Linked DNA regions of Homo sapiens: regions 1, 2 and 3 are each linked to region 4. Evidence: promoter capture Hi-C in 16 types of primary human blood cells and fetal thymus (Javierre and others, 2016). All regions are on one chromosome and are shown on one strand. Each heading gives the region's core, a stretch centred on a gene start or on the middle of the fragment in contact. The rest is flanking DNA. Distances are from core to core; before and after follow the strand shown. Region 1 overlaps LINC00529 (long intergenic non-protein coding RNA 529). Region 2 has its middle 2.9 kb from the start of XKR6. Region 3 overlaps MTMR9 (myotubularin related protein 9). Region 4 holds the start of AGPAT5 (1-acylglycerol-3-phosphate O-acyltransferase 5).

The links. The method cuts DNA at HindIII sites, captures the fragments that hold promoters and counts their contacts. A CHiCAGO score of 5 or more calls a contact.
Region 1: a fragment that was not itself captured here is called in contact with the fragment with the promoter of AGPAT5 in region 4 in 1 of 17 cell types (total CD4 T cells); the score reaches 5.8 in total CD4 T cells.
Region 2: a contact is called between a fragment that was not itself captured here and the fragment with the promoter of AGPAT5 in region 4, in 2 of 17 cell types (non-activated CD4 T cells and total CD4 T cells). The highest score is 9.4, in non-activated CD4 T cells.
Region 3: a fragment that was not itself captured here is called in contact with the fragment with the promoter of AGPAT5 in region 4 in 1 of 17 cell types (M2 macrophages); the score reaches 5.9 in M2 macrophages.

The regions. Positions count from the first base shown.
Region 1 is chr8:11,279,826-11,282,855 of GRCh38, reverse strand. LINC00529 (long intergenic non-protein coding RNA 529) reads left to right here. Exons shown (of 5, transcript NR_170283.1): 2 at 1,435-1,567. Among named protein-coding and RNA genes, the nearest start is that of LINC00529, 2.7 kb to the left of the region's middle. RefSeq lists a silencer at 1,854-1,903. The HindIII fragment of the contact is 382 bases long and covers 1,066-1,447 here.
Region 2 is chr8:11,203,057-11,206,318 of GRCh38, reverse strand. No RefSeq gene overlaps it. Among named protein-coding and RNA genes, the nearest start is that of XKR6, 2.9 kb to the right of the region's middle. The HindIII fragment of the contact is 527 bases long and covers 1,091-1,617 here.
Region 3 is chr8:11,302,244-11,305,400 of GRCh38, reverse strand. MTMR9 (myotubularin related protein 9) reads right to left here. Exons shown (of 10, transcript NM_015458.4): 4 at 387-560. Among named protein-coding and RNA genes, the nearest start is that of MTMR9, 19 kb to the right of the region's middle. The HindIII fragment of the contact is 1,228 bases long and covers 1,208-2,435 here.
Region 4 is chr8:6,706,937-6,710,129 of GRCh38, reverse strand. It overlaps AGPAT5 (1-acylglycerol-3-phosphate O-acyltransferase 5), which reads right to left and starts at 1,488. Exons shown (of 8, transcript NM_018361.5): 1 at 1,243-1,488. The coding sequence starts at 1,461. MCPH1-AS1 (MCPH1 antisense RNA 1) reads left to right here and starts at 1,921. Exons shown (of 5, transcript NR_125386.1): 1 at 1,921-1,989. RefSeq lists silencers at 1,095-1,334, 1,395-1,734. The HindIII fragment of the contact is 5,238 bases long and covers 1-3,193 here.

The sequences.
Region 1 (3,030 bases), core at 7-2,506, 4.6 Mb before region 4:
CTCTCCAGTCCAATCAGAGCAACCTTTTTGAGGGTGCATTCCCACAGAAACCCATTAGGGGCCCAACATCAACATACACAGAGCTAAAATTCCAGATGCCACTTTGTATTGAAAGAAGCCAAAATTCTGTTCAGGTCGTGGGAACTTGAAGTCTTCAATGCAACCACACCCCAGAAATTAACCCTCACACAATCATGTAAGCTATGCAATTAACCAAACTGCATCGTTTAGAAAACCTGTATGCTTTTCATGGAAACCATCCCTAGTTAAGGGCACTTTAAAGGATGCACAGTCTAAGTACTGTGAAGGTGGGCCCACTAGCTGGGTTGACATTTTCGCTTGGCCACTTTAGTAGGAAACTTAACCACTTGGGAAAGTGAAAACAACAAGCTAACCCACATGTTCACCATGGAAAACAATTTTTGTCTTGAAAAACAAGGAACCTTTTCCCTGTGCAGCACCAGTTCCTACTGTGTTTACCAGCCAATTGGACTGGAACCTGTACACTTGGTTTTTAGCCTCCGAAATCAATATAGCTCCCGGCCGGGCGCAGTTTCTCACGCCTATAATCCCAGCACTTTGGGAGGCCGAGGCAGGCGGATCACCTGAGGTCAGGAGTTCGAGACCAGCCTGGCCAACATGCTGAAACCCTGTTTCTACTAAAAATACAAAAAATTAGCCGGGTATGGTGGCGCACACCTGTAATCCCAGCTACTCTGGAGACTGAGACAGGAGAATCACTTGAACCCTGGAGACAGAGGTTGCAGTGAGCCAAGACTGAGCCACTGTGCTCCAGCCTGGGTGACAGAGGGAGACTGTCTCAAAACAAACAAACTATATATATATGTGTATATATATATATATATTTAGAGAGAGAGAGGGAGAGCTCTCAACAACCAATCCCTCATTATACCTTTAACTGCAACCGCCAGACACAAATGAGCAATCCAACTCAAACGCCTTTTTGTTGGGCTAGGAATAACAGTGAGAGCAGGAACGGGAGTTACCGGGCTTGCAACTTCCCTATACTGTTACCAGCACTTTCCAAGGATTTTGTGGAAAGCTTGGATGACATTGCCCAAAGTATCGTCACAACACAAACTCAAACAGACTCCTTGGCAGCAGTTGCTTTACAAAATAGAAGGGGACTGGATCTCCTAACTGCTGGAAAAGGTGGCTTATGTCTTTTTCTAGAGGAAGAATGCTGTTTTTATGTCAACCAATTAGAATTAGTAAGGGATGCCACCCAGAAATTAGCTGACCAGGCTTCTAAGATACGACAACAGCTGTCCAAGTCGTGGTCCTCCTGTTCAAAAATGCTAATTAGGGGTTCATGAGTCCTTCCTCTGACTGGCTCGTTGTTAATTATACTTGCCTTGGTTTTTGGACCATATTTATTAAATACATTAACCAAATTAATTTCCTCTCGCCTAGAGACCATCAAGCTTCAGATGATCATGCAACAAGGTTTCCAGCCAGTTCAGGTGAAGACACCACTACTGGCCATCAAGAAGCTACCCTGTATCCACTAGACAGAGCAGAGTGAGAGTTCTGTGATCCCAAATAGGTAGGCACCGCACCCCAAGTCAGCATGAAGCAGTTACAGAAGAAAGACCATTGGTCCCTCTGCCTCCCATAAAGATTTATGGGGATCATGTCTCACAGCGGGAAAATGAGACAGGAGAATAGGGTCTAGAGGCAGGGAACCTAAGGCCAATTCTCACTGACTTCCTAGAACTGAATCAGAGGGGAAACCCCACCTCTTCACACGAATGTAACGAAAGGATCAGAGGCTACTCCCTTTGCACTGCACTGCAAATGAAAAATGGAAAGTACCTCTGATTGGTCCCCTCCCACAACCATTCAGACTGGTTGCAGGCCAAGTCTTCATGTGTAACTTTGTAACTACCGTCACTTCAGACTCTGATTGGTCACCTCCCATGATCAGTCAGACTTGTGACGGGCCACTCCTTCATTTACATAGGGTGTAACCAAGTAACCAATGGGAAACCTCTAGAGGCTATTTAAACCCCATGCTGCACGATGGCTCACACCTGTAATCCCACCACTTTGGGAGGCTGAGGAGGGTGGATCACAAGGTTAGGAGTTCCAGACTAGCCTGGCCAACCGACATGGTGAAACCCTATCTCTACTAAAATTACAAAAATTAGCCAGGTGTGGTGTGGGCCTGTAATCCCAGCTATTGGGGAGGCTGAAGCAGGAGAATTGCTTGAACCTGGGAGGTGTAGGTTGCAGTGAGCCAAGAATGTGCCACCGCACTCCAGCCTGGGTGACAGAACAAGACTCCGCCTCAAAAAAATAAAAAAATTAAGCCCCAGAAAATTCTGTAACCAGCGCTCTTGAGCCACTTGCTTGAGCCCGCTCCCGCTCTGTGGAGTGTACTTTTGTTTCAGTAAATCTATGCTTTTGTCGCTTCACTTTTTTGTTGCTTTGTTTGTGAATTTTGTCCAATTCTTTGTTCAAAATGCCAAGAACCTGGGTGATTTGTAGTCAGTACTCTCCACCAGTAACAATAATATTGTTGCACCTGAGAGTCCAGTCTAAAAACAAGAACCAACAGAGTAGGGAAGATGAGGGGGGATGATTTACAAAGTTATTTTTTTAAACTGGAGTTTTTGACTTTCTTCATTTATGTGGATAAGTTATAACAATTACCAATTGTGGAATGAAGAATTTAATTACAGAGTGAAGAATCAGGGAACGTTTTATGGAGAAGGTATCATTTGAAAACAGGACCTTGAAGGATGAGGGTCACACTCTGAATGGAATGTGGCCGACAGAGATGTCCAATTTAGTGATATCTCCTAGAGGTGGGGATGCATTTTTCAGTAATTCCATTACCTTTTTCTTTTAGTTTCTTTATGTGGGGGGAGGCACATGAAAAGCTCATGGTTTCATTAAGTGAAAAATGTTTACTTTTCTATAACACCATGAACTTTTTTGCCCATGAAAGAAAATTGTCAATATCATGCTGGATTGTTGTAACAAAACTATTTAAAAATTACATCT
Region 2 (3,262 bases), core at 105-2,604, 4.5 Mb before region 4:
GCGATCCTTATTTTCTTTTGGTTGGGCATGATTAGTTGACTCCACACACGGTAAGTGTACGTATGATAAAGTTACACTGTACTCTGCTCTTTGGGGAGTAAATACATGAAGCTTTTTATCCTTACTTAGACAATACAGTGGATAAAAATATAAAGAAGCTCAAGAAGGGTTTAAATCAATTCACAGATGTCGGAGTTATAACTAGTTTTTAAGAGACAAAAAACTTCACAAAATACTCCTCAGTGATGTTGCTGTTAGAGAATACAGATGTACCTACCCCCGCCGATTCTTACCGATCTCTGTGACACTACATATGGGTGCATATTCCCTGCGACCTCCCCAAACTTCCCCCCAAACATTTATTATCTTTCTCCCATCCTTGTTCCTACTCACAGCATTTCTCTCCACCATTACCACCACCCTACAGGTAATCACTTTGTTTCTTAGGTCTCTTTCCAGAGTTGCTTTATGCAAATACAAACAAATAAGAAAAGATAACCTTATCTCTTCCCCTTTCTTACAGAAAATGCAGCATGTTCTATTGTTTTGCACTTTGAGTTTTGTGTAACAAAGCATCCTGCAACTCTTTGTATATCATTAAAAAGAAAACTATCATTTTTCAACATCACTGCACCATATTCTGTTGTGTGGATGTACCATAATTTATTTAACTAGTTCCCCTTTGGGTGGACATGTGGGTTTTTTCCTTCCATTCTTTCTCTCAATTGTAAGCAATGCTACATGAATAAACTTGTACACACATACTTTCTGACATCTATGTATTTATCTGTAAGATAAAGTCCCATAAAAGGGATGGCTGTCTCAAAGGGTACCTGCATTTGAAATTTTGGTAAGTAGTGCCAAATTCCCTTTCATAAAGATTTTACCATTTTGTACCACCAGCAACAAAGTATGAGAGTGCTTGCTAACACTTCAATTCTTAACATCGAATACAGAAATGTAGCTTCCAGGGATAATGGGTTCTATGAGCTTACTCCTCAGCACTCAAAGAAGTCCTGTTTCTATAGAAGTCAATAAGATACAAGGCACAGAATTGATGAGGATGACATCCACCTACTCTTTTGAAGCTTTATGTAGGCTCAAACTAGGAAAATCTTACGAAAAATGTATAAGACAGCCTCTTTGTAATGCTTTTGCTGAGGCCTATCCCCATATTGGAATTGAGGTGTTCTGTTTCCTAGCTGCATACCAGCATTGTAATAGGGTCCCTACTCTGACTAACACAGTAACACTAATTTCATTTGGAAGTGCCAGTAGCTGCCTGGCCCAGGACAATGGCAGGGTAAGTAGCAGGCTTTGGAATTACACCTGCCTGGATTCTAATCTATGGCTCCCCTTACCCATGTGACTCTGGGTAACTCATTTGGCAGACTCGAGTCTGTTTTCTAGACCATTAAAATGGGAATACTAATCCTCATGCGTTTTTGGACTGCCATATAATTAAAAGGAGTCACGTATGGGAGACTGTTTAGTACATAATAGCATTCAACACTAACTTTCCTTTGTGCCTTTCTGAAAATAGAGAATTGGGAAGAAAAACCCCAAAGGGCTTCTAAACATTTAAAATTTATGTCACAATTTCTGTATGTTAAAGCTTTTTAACTTTACTCATAGAAGAGGCTCTAAAAATCTATTTAGTATTATTTTACATGTAACTCCAACATGCTTTGTTATTTGGCTTCTCTGTCTATATTAAAGTGTAAATACAGGGGCCAAAGTTGTTAATTAACTGAATAAACAAAGAAAGCAGAGATTAAAAAATACTGTTAGAAAAAACCACCACTGCTACCACCACCACCACCAACCTCAACAACAGTTGGTGCTTAGCAGGCCGGCACAGGCACATAAATAGTTAGAGCCTCTTAGCATAAGGCCACTTCAAGGTCAAGTTGTCAAGAAAAGGTCAACTTTCTGCCTGATGTGCAGAGCACAAGCCAATGGGCAATGCATTTCTTTCACTTTCCCCCCACTTTAAAGTTTTGAGGTATCTCCGTAATGATTGAATTTTATGGAGGTTTACATCATAAAACGTAAAATACATTTTTTTTGGCACTTAAAGGTGAAATTTCAGTTATCTGGAAAATTAATTTGCACTAATTTAATCAATACTTATAGAGTGCCCACTATGTGTTCAGCATTGTGCTAAGTGCTGGCTTACTTGGAACAAAAATCACCCCCAAAATTCTAGGTAAAAGTGTGCCATCCAAAGCACAGTCCAGATTTATGTTAACTTTTCAGTGAGTCTTCATGAGAGGTTTATTATCATTGTAACTGATTTTAGAGCCTTCTGGGTTCCATAATGTATCCTTCTTCCAAAGAAAGTAGAAGGACAAAATTGTTGAAACAGCAAATGTAAAGTTGAAGTCACTTGACAGTCTGAGAATCTTACATATCTACTTGAAACTTCAATTGTAATAAACACTTTTGACTCATAAGCTCATTTGTCAGCCTTATATAGCGAGTGTAATTTACTTAGCTAATTTCACTAGTTTATGTTCTTTCAGGGCACACAGAAATAGGAATCATAAATACACCATTACTGCCCGCTTTTGTATCTCATTTCACAGCCTCGTAGCTTAAATAGAGAAAATATATTTGAAAGCACAAATTAATTGCACCTATTTTCTAGAAGTATTTCAAAATGCTTTCTTTTATTAGAGATACCAAATACACTCAGCGATAGAATTTAAGTAGAAACATGTCAGTATTATGCAAACATAATAATAACAACAGTAATAATAATAGCAGTTACTCTCTAGTGCTTAGCTGCCTATCAGGTATCATATTGAGATCCTTGAAAGGATTACCACCTTTACTCTGCCCAGCAACTTTTCAGAAAAGTCACTGTTGTTATTTCTATTATATCAAGGTGAAAACTGAGATTTGAAGAGGTAATCTTGCTCACATTATTCATGTTACTATTTTAGTGAAATTGGGGTTCATACCTGGGCAATCCTACTCTATATTTATGCCATGTAAGGTGTTATTCATTCAAATTCAGCAAAGAAACAGAATCCCATCTATATGCAGAAATAATCTTTACCTGCTGGCCTTAAGTTTTACTACCATAGGGAGTATGAGGCTTACATATGAGTATGAGTTTTACATACCATAGGGAGTATGAGGCTTAAATCATAGCATGAAATACATGGATACAGTTATATGGCTGGTTTCTAAAAGTTGATTTTGGAATCACTCCCCTCTTCCCAATGTATGGGAGTAAAAATTCACTATTAGTAAT
Region 3 (3,157 bases), core at 572-3,071, 4.6 Mb before region 4:
TGCTCCACCTTTCACGTGTAAAGTTGTTAAGAAAAATTCAAGTATTTTACCATTATTCTGAACAGAGAAATTTCTCATTTTTCTACCAGAAGAATGTTGCTGTAAGCATCAAATAAACACTAGTTTCCTTTGTATAGTGTCCTGGAGATAAAGCTATCAGGGCTTTTATACGGCTGAGCAGGATCATGGAAAGAATTCAGCATCACATCCTCACCACAGAAAACACCCTACTCCTGATTCCCTAAAGCTTACATGAAGGAAGCCCTTGTGGTGGAGACCTGGACAATCATTTCAGTGAACAGACAGAGAGCAAAAGGGAACATTTCTACGAAAAGATCCCCAACCCAAGCCTTTCAGTACATCAAGCAGTAGTGCTGTGCACTTACCATCCCATTTTTTTTGTGGTAATAGCTTAGTACTGGGAAGCGCCCTCCATGTCGAAATGTAGCTACCTTCCGAAGAGCTTCATCATCGATGGATTTGGGCACTGTGACAATTGGTGGGTAAGAGGGACAGACAGCAAATTCCTTATTGACATAGCTTAGCCTCCATTCACTGGTCTGAAAAACACAAAATACTTCAAAGCTAAGCAACTATCTCAATGTCGCAAAATAATCTGAGAAATTTTAAAAGACCTTAGAGGTCAACTTTCACTGATGAAGAAGCCATTTCTCAGGAATTTCACAGGTGGATCTCTAGCTTATATGTAAGTAGCTGCAGAGAAAAGGAGCTCTATGGTTCAGGGCCAGCTTCCTGCATTGCTAGGTATCACCAGTTCCCAGAAAGTGCTTTCTCACACTGAGCAAAACTTGTTGCTCTGTAGCTCCCTCTATTGGTTTTTACTGTACTTTCAGACAACACCGTACAAGTTCCCTATTTTACACGGTATCCCATCAAATGTTTGAAAGACAGCTGATCCTCCTTAGTGTTCTATTCTCCAAGTTAAATATATTAAGCACATCCACAATTATCACGGCCAACATCATCCTACTTCTTCCTTTTCTGGGTCCCATTTAGTTTGTTAATGATCCTCTTAAAGCACAAGTAAGACTGTACGACTCCAGATAATGCATCCCCAGAACAAATGAGAACACAGCTACTATCTATATCAAACCCTTTGTTTATTTTAAAAAAGGTAAAAAATGTACTAAGATTGGTAACACCTTTCTTAAAACAGTACCAACTCAATACTAAGGAAGGTTAAGCTTAGGAGTCAATGAAATAATTTCAAACTGAGTAAGGACTAGAAGTATACAATATAAAACTATCAAATGACAACTTATTTTAAACATCAGAATTAAAAACAGCTTGAACACTGTCAAAAGGTTTTACAGTAAAAAAAAAAAATCAAATTATATGTAAATTTCAATATGTTCTGTATATCTGAGTTGGCCTAACCATGGGTTACAATAGCAGGAAGATAAAGCTAAAAAGTATGTTAGACGTACTAACAGACAAGATTATTACTTTTAAAAAATGCTTTTATAAGATACAGTATCACATTTTTAATTAAATTTTTTCACTTTTCAAAGTTATTTATGTTACCAGTTTAAAAACATAGTTTCTAGGCTGGGCACAGTGGTTCACACCTATCATCCCGGCACTTTGGGAGGCCAAGGCAGGCAAATTGCTTGAGTTCAGGAGTTCAAGACCAGCCAGGGCAACATGGCCAAACCCCATATCCACTAAAAATGCAAAAATTAGCCAGGCACAGTGGCACACACTTGTATTTCCAGCTACTTAGGATGCTGAGGTGAAAGAATCACGGGAGCCCAGGAAGTCGAGGCCACAGTGAGCTGTGACAGCGCCACTGCACTCCAGCCTGGGCAACTGGAGTGAGATTGTTTCAAAAAATAATTAATTAATTAATTTAAAAAAAACACAGTTTCTAAAGATTTATTATTTTTAAAAAAATGTAGTTATCTGTTCCTTGCTAGCCCATCCCAATTTGCTTTCCCCAAAGGCAATCATTTTCAACATTTTTAGCTTTTTCAGTGTTTACCTTTACATTTCTAAACAACATGATAATACTGTTATTTCTTGAACTTTCACTATGATATATTATTATTGATTTCCTACTCTGGAGAATGACAGGGCTCTCCATTGATCTGCAATGCCGCTTCTGTTGGTCCAAATGTACTGTGCTCTCCATCCCGTCGCACTTGTCCACTTTAGTAACTCCTATAGCTTTTAAAATAAGTTTGGTATCTAGTAGGCCAAGTGTCCTCCTCTCACCTTTTTGTTCTTCAAAGAGTAACGTGGCTCCTCTTGGTCTTTTGGTCTTCCATGCAACTTTTATCAAATTCAATATAAAAACCAACTGGGGTTTTTATTAAGATTGTATTGACTTTATAAATCGGAGGGAATGACTTACATCTTTAGAATATTCAGTCTCTCTATCCATGAGTATATTGTCTTTTCCATTTGTTTAAGCTTTCAAAATTTTTTCCATAAATTTTTATAATTCTCTCAATAAAGGTCTTACTATCTTTTCTTAGATATATTCCTAGAAACCCAATAATCTTTGTTGCATTTTAACTGCATCTCTTCAAAATTGTGTTTGGTGTACAGAAATGCCTATGATCTCAAGATTCTTTCCTTTTCCTATGTAGACAAGCATATAATCAATAAATATTGACAATTTTGCTACCTTCATTTCAATCCCTATACCCTGTATTTTTCCTTCTTGTCTTATTGAGCTGACTAGAAGTAGTCACAATGGACATCCTTGCCTCATTCTTGAACTTAGAGAGAATGATACAAGATTTGCTTTTTTTATGTTTTTGGTTTTGGTACCCATCCTTTATCAGATTAAATAAATTTCCTTCAAATCCAACTCTAAGAGCTTTTATCATAAATAGATATTGATCAAACTTTTTTCCTCTGTTAATCTAACACCATGCAGGTCATTTGTCTTTTAACTTTGTGGTATTTTCTTTGCTTTATTGTTCAGTAGCTGAACAACAACATGTCTAAAGATTTTTTTATTATCTTGTATGGTATTTGCTGGGATACCTCAGCTTAAGGGTTCAATAACTTCTACTGATTCTGGAGAATTATCAACCATTATGCATTTGAATATTGTCTTTCTTCTATCATCACCTTTTTTTTTTTTTTGTCTTCCTCTTTTTTTTTTTTTTTTTTTTTGGAGACAGGG
Region 4 (3,193 bases), core at 239-2,738:
TAAGAGGTGAATGACTTTGTGTTCTGAGCTTATATCCCATCCCAGGCCAGTTGTCACATGATGTGGAAGTAAAAACTTAATCATGATAAAAATCATACATTTAGACAAACTTGGTGGAGTTACCATATAAAGGGAAAAAATTAGCCTGAATTATTGAAATTTTTAAATGAGGCCCATTTTAAACGTCAACTACCAGGAAACCATGACCTGGAACAGTATCTTTTTTTCTTTCCAAGGAGACACTTACAGACACTGGTTTAAATGGAGGCCCTGGCCTCTCCTAGTTCCTTCCCCCCAAACAACTTCCAACTGGGGCCATCAAGGGTCGATCAGCAGTGCAACTGCAAACTAAATATAGTACCTGACTGACCACAGGGTAAAAACAGCTGCTGTAGGTGGAAAAAAAAAAAGTTAAAAAGACAAAATGATACCGTCCCATTTCCCCATGCCACCCTAACCCTACCAAGAAAAGTAAAAGAGGACTAGGTGGACATTAGGAATAACCAAGAATAAAGCTGTTCTTTCAAACTGAGAAATAAAAGAAAAATTCACCTTTTTTTTTTTTTTATAACACTTCAAATACCTACTGTTAAAGAGGGCCTTCCACTTTTATGGTTTGTTTCTCAAGTTTAATCTACGAATCCAATCTCTACAGAGAAACAGTAACAGAAAGAAAGTAATCAGACAACAGATCACCCACACATTCAAGCCCAGTTAAAGTTGGCAAGAAATGTATCTAGTTAGGCTTCTACGGTTAACAAATGTATTCATTTCTTCGCCCAGCTTTCACTTGTCCAGGGGAAAGAACACAAGACCGAATTGTACTTCTGTTTCAAGAGGTCACTGTAAAAGCGCACTTCGGAGTGTAGACGTCTCCGATCTGTTCCAACATGACCACCTCTTTGGACCAAAGGCCAGAAACTGCTAAACGCGTGCCCTATTATTTAAAACGTGCATCTGCACCCACTTTGCTAAGCAGCATCAGACCCAGGCGAGGGGCGGGGAAAGGGGCGGCGGGTCCCACTCGTAGCCTCAGGACGACGCAGCCACAGCTTCCTAGAGAGCGATCTCGGCAGAACGGCAGGAAGCATGCGGAGAGGAAGGCGGGGAGGCGGCACGTGCTCTCCGTGCTGGGTCCGCCGGGCCGGCCGGGTGACCCTCGCCAGCTGTGGGGGAGCGGAGAGGTCCGCGCCCCCGGGAGCTCGGGTGGACGCCGAGACCCGGGAGCGGGAGGCGGCTCACCTGGACCCCGGTGTAATTCTCGAAGAAGAAGAGCACCATGCTCTGGTAGACGCAGTAGAGCCGGTCGTCCAGCGCTTGGTAGAAGCGGGCGGGCAGGAAGGCGGAGAGCAGCCGCCAGACCCCCCAGGCCAACACGTAGGTGGGCGCCGTGCCCAGGAGCACGACGCTGGGCAGCAGGTAGCGCATGGAGTACGTGTGGAGCACCAGGGACAGCAGCATCTTCTCAGCTCGGCGGCAGCGAGCTCCGCCTGCGCTCCCCGCCCGCCTCCCGGGCCTCAGTCGCGGCCAGCAGGCGGCCAATCACCGCCCGGGCCCGGGCCGCCGCGCCCGCCACCCGCTCCCAGCCTCCGCCCCCAGCCGCATGGGCCGCGCCGCCGCCCGGGGCCGGGTAGGCGAGTGCGGGGCTGCGTGCGCCGCTCCCGGCGGCAAAGCAAGGGAACCCGCGGCCCTCCCGGATCGATGGCTCAGGGATGCTCACACCCCATGACCCTCACCCATCGCCACATCCCCCTGCCGGGGCAGGGGGCTCCGCGGCAACAACGCGCCTTCTGATTGGTCGCCCGTTGCCATAGTTCCACCTCGGCGGCAATAACACGTCTCTTGATTGGTTGGTTTGGGCCGACAGTTGCAGTACAGCTACCTGCTGGGGCGCGGGCAACCCGGCTCCGGCCACTGCGCATGCTCCCCAGCTGGGCCGGCTGCGGACGCGGGAAGGGAGGTGGTGGCGACTGACGGAACTGGGTGAAGGTGGGTGCTGGCCGGAGGAGGGTCCGGGTGCCTCTTGTTCTGCTCCCTCGGGCCGGACGTGCGCGCGGTCAGGTTTAAGGGTCGCTGGAGCTGCCTGGAACGCGCACCTGCTGCTCACAAGCCCCTGGGCGCCGGGATGCACACAATTAGAGCAGTGAGAAAGTGGGTGTTAACGTTATCGGAGGTCTAATTCTTGCAGGCACCTGGGCCCAGGTTGTAGGCAGCTCGGCCCAGGTCGCGGGGCAGCTCGAGTGTCCCCATCTGCTCACTGCCAGTCCTTTGCAAGGGGACGCCGCCTCCTCAGCCTCCGCTCTGAGTGCGCAGCAGCCCCTCCTGCCCGTCTCTCGCTACCAGGGTGTTTCAGAATTAGGGTCCGTGTTTTTCCCCATCACAGTAATGATGATAATTACATGTTTATGCATAGCTGAAGAACAATCCCACAAGGATATTTCCATACTGTTTATTAGACCTTTTCAGAATTCACTCTTGCTTCATTTCCTCAGAGTCTGTTGGACTTGTTTCTGATTTTTTTTTAATAAGGAGCCTCGTTTTTTTCTGTAGTAATTAAAGTAGTTGCGTGCACATGTGTAATCCATAAAAAGCATACTTTTGTAGCCTTCACTAAAAGCTACGAAGGGTGGATAACTGTTTTATTGATGTTAAAGCAGATCCACAGGACTTTTGGATCTTTCTCCTCCCCTTTGGCTGTGGTAAAAATGGTTTAATATGTAACCCTTTTCAAGGATAGTTGTACTTTAAAAGAATGCCGAATGCTTTACCATATATATATATATATATATATATATATATATATATATATTCCCGCCCCCTCCCCACCACCACCATAATGGGAGCCTGTGCTACCTTTAGGCAGGACGGTATTTCAGTGGGAAGTTCTAATCAGGGCCAGGATGGTAGCTACTTTCTTTATACATGATTAACATCAAATAACAACATCATTGGTAGATGATGACCTTTGGGGACAAAGCCAGGTGAATGGAGATCTCTCAAGTAACAAGTATTTGAAGGCCAGCAGGAAGCATTACACAGTAAAAGGAGCTTCTCTCTTTCTGTGGCTGTCATTGTCCTGTACTGTAAGAAGCACTAGGTTTAGTACTGGTGGAAAAAAGTCACAGGTGTGGACAGTGTGCACAACTAATGCTCCTTATGCTTTCTTTAACTGAGACCAGACATCTCTACACTA